Linked DNA regions of Homo sapiens: region 2 is linked to region 1. The links are contacts of gene promoters, found by promoter capture Hi-C in human tissues and cell types (Jung and others, 2019). All regions are on one chromosome and are shown on one strand. The core of a region is centred on a gene start or on the middle of the fragment in contact, and the rest is flanking DNA. Distances in the headings are between cores, read along the strand shown.

Evidence for each region. Contacts are between HindIII fragments. The study calls those that stand out against the background at their distance.
Region 2: a contact is called between a fragment that was not itself captured here and the fragment with the promoter of TNPO1 in region 1, in 1 of the 25 tissues and cell types used here (dorsolateral prefrontal cortex).

Annotation. Positions count from the first base shown.
Region 1 is chr5:72,814,434-72,820,547 of GRCh38, reverse strand. It overlaps TNPO1 (transportin 1), which reads right to left and starts at 3,887. Exons shown (of 25, transcript NM_002270.4): 1 at 3,796-3,887. The coding sequence starts at 3,810. It overlaps TNPO1-DT (TNPO1 divergent transcript), which reads left to right and starts at 4,000. Exons shown (of 9, transcript NR_186518.1): 1 at 4,000-4,395. RefSeq lists enhancers at 3,111-3,160, 4,241-4,320 and silencers at 3,621-3,840, 3,881-3,980. The HindIII fragment of the contact is 3,854 bases long and covers 2,447-6,114 here.
Region 2 is chr5:71,780,496-71,786,609 of GRCh38, reverse strand. No RefSeq gene overlaps it. Among named protein-coding and RNA genes, the nearest start is that of CARTPT, 64 kb to the right of the region's middle. The HindIII fragment of the contact is 4,053 bases long and covers 1,614-5,666 here.

The DNA of each region.
Region 1 (6,114 bases), core at 2,638-5,137:
ACATAATAAATGAGAAAAATGTACATGAAAGTGACAATGTATGTTAAATGCCTACAAATGATGTCTAGTACATTACAAGGAAAACGTTAATCCACTCTCTATTCCTCCAATCCCAAAGCAACAGGAACAATACTGTGTAGTCTCAATTTATTATATTAATAAGTTCATTATTAAATTCCCTTAAGTAAAAGCAATTTGCAGTATGGACCATGAGCTTTGGATGTTTACTTTGACTCAGTATTTTTGCTTTGGGGACTCTAAATAATCCAGAATGCAGAAATTGATTTTTGTATGAGGATGTTCATTGCAGTGTTTCTTATAACTGCAAAAAAATTAGAAACTGTTTAATAATGAGAAATCCACACAAACATGCAAACATTAAATATGGTGACAAAATAATTAAGTAGCATAAGAAAATGCTTATGGTGAGAATACAAAATTACTCACATAGTAAAGTCTCAACTGTGAAAAAAATCCAATAAACTCAGAAAAAAACATTGGAAGGAAATGCGCAAAAGGGCTTACAGTAGTTACTACGTAGTACTGATATTTGTAATTTTTATTTTATGGTTTTCTATAGTTTTCTGAAATAATTAACAGTGATAATGACATTGATGATAACAGCAGTTATTATTTATAGAAAAGTTAATACATGTCAGGCCCAGTTTTAAGAGCTTAGTGTATTAACTCATTTAATCCTCATAACATAAGATGAAAAAGTGAGATTAAATAACTTGCCCAAGGTCACACAGATAATTACAGAAGGTGCCAAAATCTGAATCCAAATAGTGTGGCTCCAAAGCGCCTGTTCTCTACACTACATTGAAAAGTTTTGCTTTGTTTTAAAAATTTAACCATTAAAAAGGCATATATCAATCCCAACTTTATGGTCTCACGGTTATCAGCTTTTTTTCAGTACTGAGTTGTAATATTCGCTCTGGCATGGAGTGTCTTTTTGGATTAAGATGTAGCCACTATTCCTATATGTATTCTATCTACTCCAGAAAATTCCAGGACAAATCCACCTCCCTATTTCCCATTTCAATATCTCATTTGACCATTCAGACTCTAGAACTCTAATATTCCTACTTACTACAGCAACTTACAGTACTTCAAAGGACCCTTCAAAGCAACCCAATCAAACTTGCTTTTGAAAACCTCTCCTAACTAACATCCACGCATACAACTACAAATCAGTTACCACTTGCTGTGGTTTGAATATGGTGTGTCTGTCTCCATCAAAATTCATGTTGAAATCTGATCATGATCTGGTGGACATGATTTAGTTCCCTGAGGGTGAGTTGTTAGAAAGCCAGGCCCTTCCCTCAGATTTCCCCCTCTTTGCCTGGGGTGGCTTCCCCTTTGACCTTCTCTAGCAGGTTATGATGCAGCACAACAAGCTGACCAGATGGCGGCGCCTTGCTTCTTATACTTCCCAGCCTGCAGAACCGTGAGCTAAATAATAAACCTCTTCTCTTTATAAATGACCCAGTCTCAGGTATTCTTTTACAGCAACACAATACGGATTAAGGCACCACTCTTGCAAACATCTGTCTTCCATTGTGAAGCTCATCCCTTGTACAACCCAGAAGACTCCTTCACCTGCCAACACTCAACAGATTTACCATGGCAATGGCTGAATAGGGTCAACTAAGAAAAATCCTCAACCTCCAGGGGAATTTCACTGTTTCTGATCCTTCCTCTTTGAGGATGGCATTGTTCGCCATTGTTTTTGAAAACCTCATCAGTTTCTTTGATTCTCTCAGCTTTCTCATCCTTTTGCTGGTAAACCAAACTGTTTTGAGGGGGGAAGATATCTTTTTAGCACCAATATGTATTCAAATATCAATCTCAGGAAAAAATATCACAATTTATACCCTGGCCAATAAAAAGAACTCCCCCACTTACTGCTGTGCTCCTCTCTGCAGTTTATATTTGATAAATTCATTTATTTCATTACCTATGTCACTTGGTTTGACGTCACTTTATAACCAGGTTTCTTTTCTTAAAAAAACATTTGCAGAATCCAACATGGTTAAAATTCAAGAAATTCTTCTAAATACAGATGTTTACATTTCAATGTAGTAGCTCATTTACAACATTTAGAAAAACTGAGTTCATGGAATGGCTTTAAAATTATAAATAAGCAAAACTACAGTCATAAAAACAATGAATACAATAAGAAATGTTGATATTGGAAAAGCTTACAACTAGAATCATGTATTTTTACAAAAATCTTATTCTGCTCACATTATATAATGGTAATAAAGCCACTGAGAGTTGAGGTAGAAGTGCAAACAAGATTTTTATAGATATTTCAGTGGGAGGAATTTAATAATTCCTGACTAGGAGAAAGATGCAGCCACATCAAGGGTGGCGGCCCCTTTTAGGAAAAAGAAAACAGAACACTAGTACTTCATTAGGCTCACGTTAAATTGCATGAAGTAAAAATCGTACTGCCAAGCTAGTATAAATTTATGCACTGCATAGCTAGAGACTAAAAAAGATATCTGCACCTACAAACTATTGTTTCCCTTTTGTGGTTGCTAATTTTCATCCTGGCACAGCCTTCTCTAGGAACAACTACGGTGCCAGGTAAGGTGAAAGTGGAAAACAGATCCTTTCCCAAAAAACGGAACTTTCCCCTTTTCCACTAAACATAGCTTCTTCACCACTCTAACATGAAAGCTTTGATATAACAGGGAAACTTAAAAAGCTGCAGGAACTTTTGTTATTCTAAAAGTGAGTAGTACGTCAGGACAGCCATTTTACAACCTTCATTTCCAAACACCTATTACACCATACATCTTGCAATTTTAAAAGTATCTTTTCTTTAGGGTAAAAAAAGTACCACTTACACATTCATCATTTAAGTCATTACTGTTTCAAAGGACAGTTATTAAGCTTCTTAATACAGCTGTCAAAATCAATTTGTAGATAGCCTCCAATTTCAAATTTCTACATTTACATCTACTGATAGACCATCCTGATTAGCGATTAAGATAACAGACTTAAACTCTAAGCAATCCTTGCAAAATCCAGTTGATTTTTAAAATCAGTAAGCAACACGCGATCATTTTTAAAGAAAGTCATTCCGAAAATAGCTTGATTGTGGTGGCCAATCTGCTCCTCAGCAGCTGTTCCCTGTTGCTTGTACGCATGGGAGTGGAGGTAGAAGGGCAAAACCCACAAGCCCACGCAAAACTCGTACAGTCACAAACATTATGTAAACATGTCGTGAGGCCAAGAGGCCCCAAGGAGAAAGAACCGCCGGGAGGAAGAGAACGGCAAGCTGCATGTAAGGACGATGGGCGCTGTGTGCGGACGCAGGAGACCCGGGCAGAGGGGCCCAGGGCGGGACAAAGACTGGCCCATCTCGGGCAGCGCCGGCCAGCGCCCAGAACCAGTGAAAGGCAGCCGTCCCGGGGCAGCCGACTGCAGCACTCAAGGGCCCTCAAACGCCACAGCTTAACAGGCGAGGCAAACGCTCCCCTGAATGTAAGACCCTTCCCTTCCCGCCCCTTGTAACGGGCTCCTGCCGCCCCTAACGGGATCCTCGGACGCTTGAGGAGCCGCCGTCGCCTGCTCCCTACCCGGGTCCCGCAGGGCGCCTGGGCGGGCAGCTGTTGGGGTTAGAACCGCGCCGCCGCTGCCTCTCGGCTTCAAACGGCCGGGCAGGCGCCGAGAGAGCGGGCGAGCCCGGCGTCTCTCCCGTAGGCGCGTCAGGCAGCTCGGCGCTCCCAGCCTCCGTTCCCGCCCCTGCAGTTCGGGGCCGCGCACCCTCACGCCACCTACCCGGTCCCACACCATCCCAGACGCCTCGGGCGCTCGGGCCTTCGGCCGAAGCGGCACTGCCTCCTGTCCGGGGCCTGAAATGGCTGCGGAACAAAGAGAATCTGGGCTTCACCGAGCGCCGGTCCGATTGGCCGGGGGGCGGAGCCCGCGGCGGGAACATTCGGCGGCGGTCGCCTTGGCAACGGCGGCGGGGCTAGGAAAATTGCTGCCTGGGTCGGCTGGGCCTGTGGGCCTGCGTCCGACAGCGCGCGGCCGTGCTTTCTAAGCGGGCTCGGCAGCACCAGACTTCACCGGCCCGGCGCGGGGCTCACAAGTGCTCGCACTCCCTGCGGCCGGCGCGCTGACCGGAGCCTCTGGGTCTCGCACGCAGCAGCTGCAGACGCTGCCCGGCGCGGTGGGGCTGTGAGCAAAACGGCCCGCCGGTGTGGTTGCCCAGACTGTGCTGGGCCCTCCTAGGTGGATGGCCCTGCCCCAGCCTAACTTCTGTACCCCAGCATAACCTCCAAAGTAACAGCCGTGCCCTGGGAGCCTGTTCAACACTGAACATATCCCACAATAACACTGTTCCAGCGTCGCTGGTAAAAAGCAGAAATGGCTTCGGTAGGTAGACGCCGGTGGATGGCTGCCCGCTTAGAACAAGATAGGCTTTTGACGTATGTTGTATCTGGCGTATAAACTACTATGTAATTAGAATTCAGTGATTTATAAAATGTTTACGCCTCCAGGTGTTCAATCCTATAAAACTGTAGTTTCTTGCTCTTAGAAATAACAAGCCTTTCTCTCCCTAACCTGCCATCATGAGAAATTAAAATGTCCTGTATTTTCTGTACGGCAAATGATTCAAAATGGGAGTGGTGGACGTTTTTATACCCAACTGCAACAAGGGTAATGAGATAAATATCAGTTTCCTTCCCTCAGATTATTCTTATATGTAAAATTTACTGTATAAAAATACTTAAAATTTGCATAGCTAGCTGATTTTTATTTTCTAAGGTGATGATGCCCGTGATAATATTCCTCACATGATCAGTGTGAGTAGAAATACCAGCAGTTCCGACTATCTTACTGGAAGTGCTGTATATATTTTGAAAATGTGTGACAGTTGTTGCCTTCCTGTCATAGTTTAGGTAAAATTACAGTACATAATACTAGAAAATGTCTAAATTTTTACTAAGGTAATTTATTTGTTCTTCTAAACGTGTTAACAATTTTCATTTGAATTACAGTCATTTTGCAGGAACAACTAGTTTATTTAACTTAAAATTTGAGACTAAAAGTACCATTTTTTAATCATTGGGAAATTGAACTTAGCAAGGGAAAATATAGATAACTAAAATATTCATGATTTCAACATGTTATAATATTAATTTGATAGTAATTGGATACAGTAGTGTATATCAAAAAGAGCCCCCCCCCCCAAATAGGAGTAGATTACCAAGAAAAAAATGTAATATAAACTTTTCTGAATGGTAGTTTATCTGCAGGAAAATATACCCAGAAAAAGTATATTTATCCAAATAACAAATGGCTTATTTCTGCATTTGAAAAGTTACATCGTGGACTAGGATCTATACAAATCAGAAGATGTGTAGTATTTGCATTCTACTTTGCTAAAGGAAAAAACACAAATATTTCTAAAATCCAAAAGATTAGCAAATAATGACAGATGTAAATACTACTGACTAAGCAATTAGTAGGAGTTCACTTGATTAATAGTTTGGAAATAGCTGAAATGAATTGAAGAAAAAGTAACATATTATTTAGCATAAGAGGATTTATTGGCCAAAACATTTTGAAAGAAAAAAATGTTGATTATCAGATGTTGTAAAATTGAGATTAAGCAAATTAAATATGTATTCTTTTGTAAAAATTAAAGTGAATGAAAATACTAATATAAAATAGTTCTGTTGAATAGAGATTCTTACACATGTAGCCTTTTTGTCTCTTCTAGGTCAAATTAAAAAAACATGTTTTAAACAGTAAATCTTATTAACAAGGATTTATTAACATGGCTTATTTTATTTTTCTTTGACAGTTTGCACATATAATAGCAGCTATCCAGTAGTATTTTCTCTTTATACCTAAATATGCTCATGTGGTAAAACTTTGAAGAATTATTAATAATTTTTAAATGACAAAAATGAAGTTAAAATTTATAAACTTTGTTTTTACCTTTAAAACATAGATATATTTAAAATTTCTGTATTAATTTTATTTTCTTAGGTGAAAAATTTACCAAGATAAAAATAAAAACATGTTAGAAGTTACAAAATAGCATCTGAGGGAGAAAACATACCTATAAGCTTTCACCTAGGAATG
Region 2 (6,114 bases), core at 2,391-4,890, 1.0 Mb after region 1:
TCCAGACCTCGGTTTATCTTCTGTGCAGTGAGGGATTTGAGCTATAGGATCTCTGCGGTCTGTAACTCCAGCCACAGGAAATGGAAGTCTGCTCCCTTTCACAAAGGCTCTTTGTCGTGAAATCCCTTGCTGCTGACCCCCTGGACCTCATGCAAGCACCATCTTTAGAAATTAGCATTATATTGATTTTGACTTGGCTGTCATTGATGCTTCTGTTTTATGTGTTTTAATTAAATGTTATTATTTGCCACTGTGTCCCGAGGCCATGTGTTGGGAATGGGTGAGATTGCATAAATCAGACGTGGAATTCTATGTTGGGAGTCCATTGACTCTCTCAGGATATCGCTGTAATTATTTCCCTTGGATCAATAGAGAAGCTTTGATGTTGTCTTTACAGCCAAGAGAAGGCTTCTTTCCATTTATCTCCCACCTTGTTGAAAATGCACAGAGCCCTTCTCTAAAACTCACCCTCCCTTAATATAAAAATGAGCATTTCATTGTGTTTTCAATGTTGTTGCTATTTTTTAGGCACTGTCATCTTTCAGAGCCACCTCCACCTGGGGACTGGGAGCCAGTTTCACTCTGCGACATGAAGTCCCGTCTTGGGCCTGGGCCTTCTGTCCGTTCCCCTCCGGCTCCCATCATGGTTCCTCTCTGCACTGCAGGCCTGGGGCCACTATTCATTCTAAACTTCTTCTAGATGCTTGTGTTATCAAGGATGTCATTTTTATTACCCTCTCTACACTCGCATGTCTGCCTTGCATAAAGTTAGCTCTCAGTGCATGTTGGTTGAATCGAACTAAGAGGAGAGAGTGAGGAATTTGAACTTCTCTCCAGCAGAGTCACCTAGAGCCAGTCGAGGTTCATTTCAGAACCTGTACCCTAACTGGGACAGGAAAGACTGTAGCTGGAGGAAGAAGAGAGGCTATGGTTTTCTAGAGCATCATTCTGTATGTTAAGTCCAAACAATACTAACGTTTTTTTAAAAAACTCCCATTATATATAATAAATTCTTAGCATACTTTGGGGGTGGGGCTGGGAGGGATGATTTACTAACCATTTTTTGCTCATGCTTAATAAATATTTCCTGAAAGTATACAAGTCAAGAATCCAATTCAAGAAATGAGAAAAAAGAGCATCTTCCTCAAAAAAAAGAAAAAAAATTTTTTTAAATCAATGAAATTCATTTTGTACTGTTTACAATTTTATTGCTGCATCCTAGGCACTGACACATAATAAATGCTCAATAAATATTTATTGAACAAAAATAAATCAATAAACAAATATTTCTTGAATAGATATTTACATAGAAATGAGGCACCAGAGCAAGTGCAAATATCCCCTCAGACTCCCTGTCTTCCTCAATCCAAATCCAACCACCTCCAAGAAACAGGGCTTTCCCCAACACTGGCATTTTCATTTTTCTGAATTTCTAAAGCCATAGGTTTCTGCTTAATTATACCTTTATTTACTTAAAAAATATTTATAGAGCACTATGTGCCAGTCACCATTCCAAGCACTCATATATATCTCATTTAATCCTTAAACAATTCCATGAGTGGGTATTAATATTACTAATATTATTATCTTCAACTTACTGATGAGAAAATTGAGGCATGAAAGAGCTAAATAACTTGGCCAAGATCACACAGCCAGTGAGTACTGGAGTCAGGATTTATCTATTTTTATTTTATTTTATTTTAGAGACAAGATCTTACTCTGTTACCTAGGCTTGAGTACAGTGGTACAATCACAACTCACAGCAACCTCGACCTCCTGGGCTCAATCAATCCTCCCACCTCAGCCTCCCAGGTAGCTAGGACTACAGGGTCACACCACCATACCAGGATAATTTTTTTTATTTTTTTGTAGAGACAGGGTCTCACTTTGTTGCCCAGGTTGTTCTCAAACTCCTGGGCTTAAACCGTCTTTCTGCCTCAGCCTCCCAAGGTGGGTAAGCCCCAGAATCTGTTTTTGTGACCACTATTCTGGGCCACTACCACCCTTGCCATGATTGATCTTCAGTTGTTTCATGCCAACCTGGGCTCTCTCGTTGTCCTGTGAGCCTCCTGACAGGTGGGACCACAACTCCTGCTGCTTTTATCACATTCCCCCATCATATTTATTCAATAAATGTTTATTAAGCACCTCCTTTGTTTCTGGCATGTTCTAGGTTCCAGGAATACAGCAATGAACCAGACTGTCCAATCCCCTCCTCATGGAGTTTACATTCCAATGAGAGAAAAACAGACGATACCCAGGCAAACAAGATACTTAGAGATCATTACAAGTGCGATAAAGGAATAAAACAGAGTGAGGAGTCAGGAGGCCTTGAGGCAGAGGGAGCCTCCTTACATCATGGGGTGAGAAAGGGCTGTCTGCGCTGAGCCCTGAGGAAAAAGAGCCAGCCAGTGAGGAGTTAAGGGAAGAGAGCTCAGGTGCAAAGAGCCTGAGGCAGAAATGGGCTTGGCAAGTTCTGGAAGGAGAAAGATGCCTGGAGGGTGACCAAGCAGGATAGGAGAGGGGAACAGAGCTCAGAGCTTGCAGGCCTGGGGAAGTTTGGATTCTGCACACGGTGTTGAGAGAAGCCACAGGACATGACACAGCGCTCACATGACACAGTGAACACTAAACGACTACCACATCTCTATACCTGGGTGCCTCTCTGCACACCAAGCTACCTGGAACCACTGAGCACTGCCTCCGGGGTGCCCCGTTACCCCCAAAATTGCTGTTCTAGTAGGGTGCCGGGGACAACCTTGTGGGCCTGGAGTCAGATGGTCTGAGTTTCAATCTCTACTCTTCTGATCACACGTTGAATGACTTTAGGCAAATTATTGAACCTAAGCTTCAGTTTTCTAGCCTGAAAAAAGTACATCATAAAGGACATATCCCAGATTACTGTAAGGGTTAAATGAGCGGATAGGTACCACATGCTCAGTCGTTCTTATGTTGTGGTGGTGATGTTTATTAATCGTGCTAGGAGTTCAGCCCTGAAGTGTAAACACTTCCTAGCAGAACGTGCTGTAATTTCTGGCATCAGCTATACCGTTTTCTGGGCTAAGAGCAACAGATCAGTGAAAAGGGTCTGAAAAGAAGAAAAAAAAAAACGGTATGATACAACACGTCTACTATTTCCCAAATAACATGACCTCTACTTTCTATTTTTTATGCAACACGCTGGAAAGTTCTAATGCATTCAAAATCCCTCTCCAAGCTCTCTCTGGTTTCTTATTAGCATATGTCCAGAGACAACATCAGTCGTGCGACCCTCTGAGGAGAATCGATGACTGAAAATGTAGCGCGCCATGACCAGAAACTCAATTCCCGGCCAGATGAAAAAAGAAGCCCATTTAACCCAAGGAATGTCAAGGCCAGGGTTTCTGTTCAGATATCCTGAGAAACGAGTTACATGGAAACGCCGAGACGGAGGCCTCCATCCCCACGCCGAGCATGTCTTTTCTTTGGTGCGCCAAGGAACCCATTAAGAACCAAGCCCTGGCGCCATCTCCTGGCAGTCTCGAAAACTGAAAAGCAGACGTTTAACACAAGGGACCCCTCCCTCTCCTTGACAGAAATTAAGTTCGGGGGAAAAAAACTGGTAATTTCATGGGAACTTCTGTGTTTTCAACCTCCTGTTAAATATTTGAATCGAGAAGAGCAGATGGTAGCAGTCTCAGCCATTTACAGTCCCCACAAGGGACTGTCCCTGCTATACCGCCACTTCCTTTGTTTCTGTAAGAGCTTGTCACTCAACAGAGGTACCAGAGATCAGAGCCAGCACATTTATCTGCAGTAGCTGGTGCTTGGCCCCACTCCCACAAGTGCACCCAGCATTACCTGAGGATAGTCCTCTGCCCAAATTAACATCTTCAAATACATCTACTTTCTCAAAATACTTTACACAAAGAAAGCATGCATGAAATCTGCCTTCAAAGAGGTGGGCTCCAAACTCACTGCAAAGCTGCAAGCCCAAGTTCACCTCAGTACCCAGAATCTCATGATAAGGATCAGTTTGGGGTCTTGCTCTCCCTAGGGAAAGACCAGGTGGCACCTTTGCCTTCACAGCCACTTTCACTTTCCAAGGCTTTGCCTGGCCCGGGGAGTTTCCGCAGTTAGCGTTCAGCTTCATACTCACCATAAAGCCAGGTAACTTGGCATCATTAGACACAGAGCCTGAAATGACTAGAAAAAATAAATCTGCAGGGTTGCTGACCAAGGAGTGAACCAAAATCCCCAGGAATTTGGTCTTATTCCTCTGGAAGGACAAGCAGGGTGGTTTTGAAAACAGGGAAGCCATTGGCTGGGCTGGTTCCTCCCTGCTTTACTCAGGGATATATATTTACTTATTTAAAATGCATTGAGCCCTTTCTGCTTGGCAGATAATGTAAAAAGCACTTTACCAGCAGTTCTTTATTTAATCTCAACAACAACCCATACAACTGGTATCATTTTTATTTCCATTTAACAGATAGAAAACAGAGAGAACTTTACATAACTTGCCCAAGATCTTAGAGCAAATAAATGGTAGAGAAAGGATTCAAGTTTATGCATCCTGATTCTTCTTAACCACATAAGAAAGTATCTCTCAGAGACCCAGGACTTGGGATTTTCATTGGCACTTCTGAAAACACAGCCACTCCTCATGTTTGTAGGATGAATGAAATGGGATAATTTTCCCTAAAGAAAAAAGGTGCCCTCCATAGCCCTTCGAATGTGTGTGTGTGGTGGGGGAGGAGGAGATGCAGTAGCATCTGGCCCCGAATTTTAGTCCTTCTTGAACAGCATATACCCCATGTAAATTCTTTCCCCTGAGTCTTCACACGCTTGATCCAGTTACTGAACCGTAGTCCTCATCCCCAGCCCATTTTTTAGGACCTTGTCCTTAATTTTCTCATATCATTCATGCCTGATGACTGATTTCTCATGGTTATTTGCAAAAGCACAAATACAAATGCTATTAACTGGTAATAAAACAAGCCAGCCATTTCTAAAACTCAGTGCTGGTGACTGCTTAGTGGTCTTTGGGGACCCTGGGTTTGCCAGATCCCACTAAAGCAAACATTGCTTTCGATACAAACTTGCCAAGCGTGATTTGTAGTGATTCGAGACCAGGACAAGGCAGTACACAGTCAGGTATGGGGCGGCCGGGTATGGGTAGTGAGTTCTACTCATGCTCAGAAATAGAAATGGTTGGCATGGTGGGAGCAGTCAGAGGGGAAGCCACTGCTCCTGCCCCTGCTCTCTTTATACCTTGCCTGACCTCAGTATCTGATGTGTAAAATGACAGAGCGCAGTTGATAACAAATCCCTTTTGAGCACTGACCATAATTCAGGCACTCTGTGGTCCTGGTGATACAGTGTTGAACAAGACAATGATTTTGTCCTAATGGATTTTATAGTGTGGTGGGGAAGAAGGGGAAGGCAGATGATAAACAGATAAATAGATAAGTTACATGGTAGGTAGTGATACAGGCTACAAATAAAAGTAAGTCAGGGTAAAAGGATAGTGAGTTGCAGTGGGGTGCCAGAAAGGGAGGCTAGGGAGATCTCTTTGATGAAATAACATTAGAGTAGGGGTGTGGATGAAGTGAGGGAGCAACCCAAACTCAAAGCTGTGGGAAGAGCATTCCTGGAAGAAGCAGCAGGGAGGAAAAGGCCCTGAGATAGGAACGACGCAATGTGTCCGATGAGCAGCAAGGAGACCAGTGTGGCTGGGTCACCAGGAGTGTTGGGGAGTGGCAGGAAATGAGGAGCACCCAGGAGCCAGAGCATGGAGGGCCTGGCAGGCCATGGGAAGGAGCTCAGTTAGGAAGCCCCTGAAGGCTTTAGAGTGTGTGCCAGGCAGGGCGTGGTGGCTCATGCCTGTAATCTCAGCACATTGGGAGGCCGAGGCTGGTGGATCACTTGAGCTCAGTTTGAGACCAGCCCGGGCAACATGGCAAAACCTCATCTCTACAAAAAATACAAAAAAAAAAAAAAAATAGCTGGGCATAGTGGTAAGTGCCTGTAGTCCCAGCTACTTGGGGGGCTGAGGTGGGAGAATCACTTTAGCCCAGGAGGTTGAGGCTGCAGTGAAATGAGATTGCACAACTGCACTCCAGCCTGGGTGAC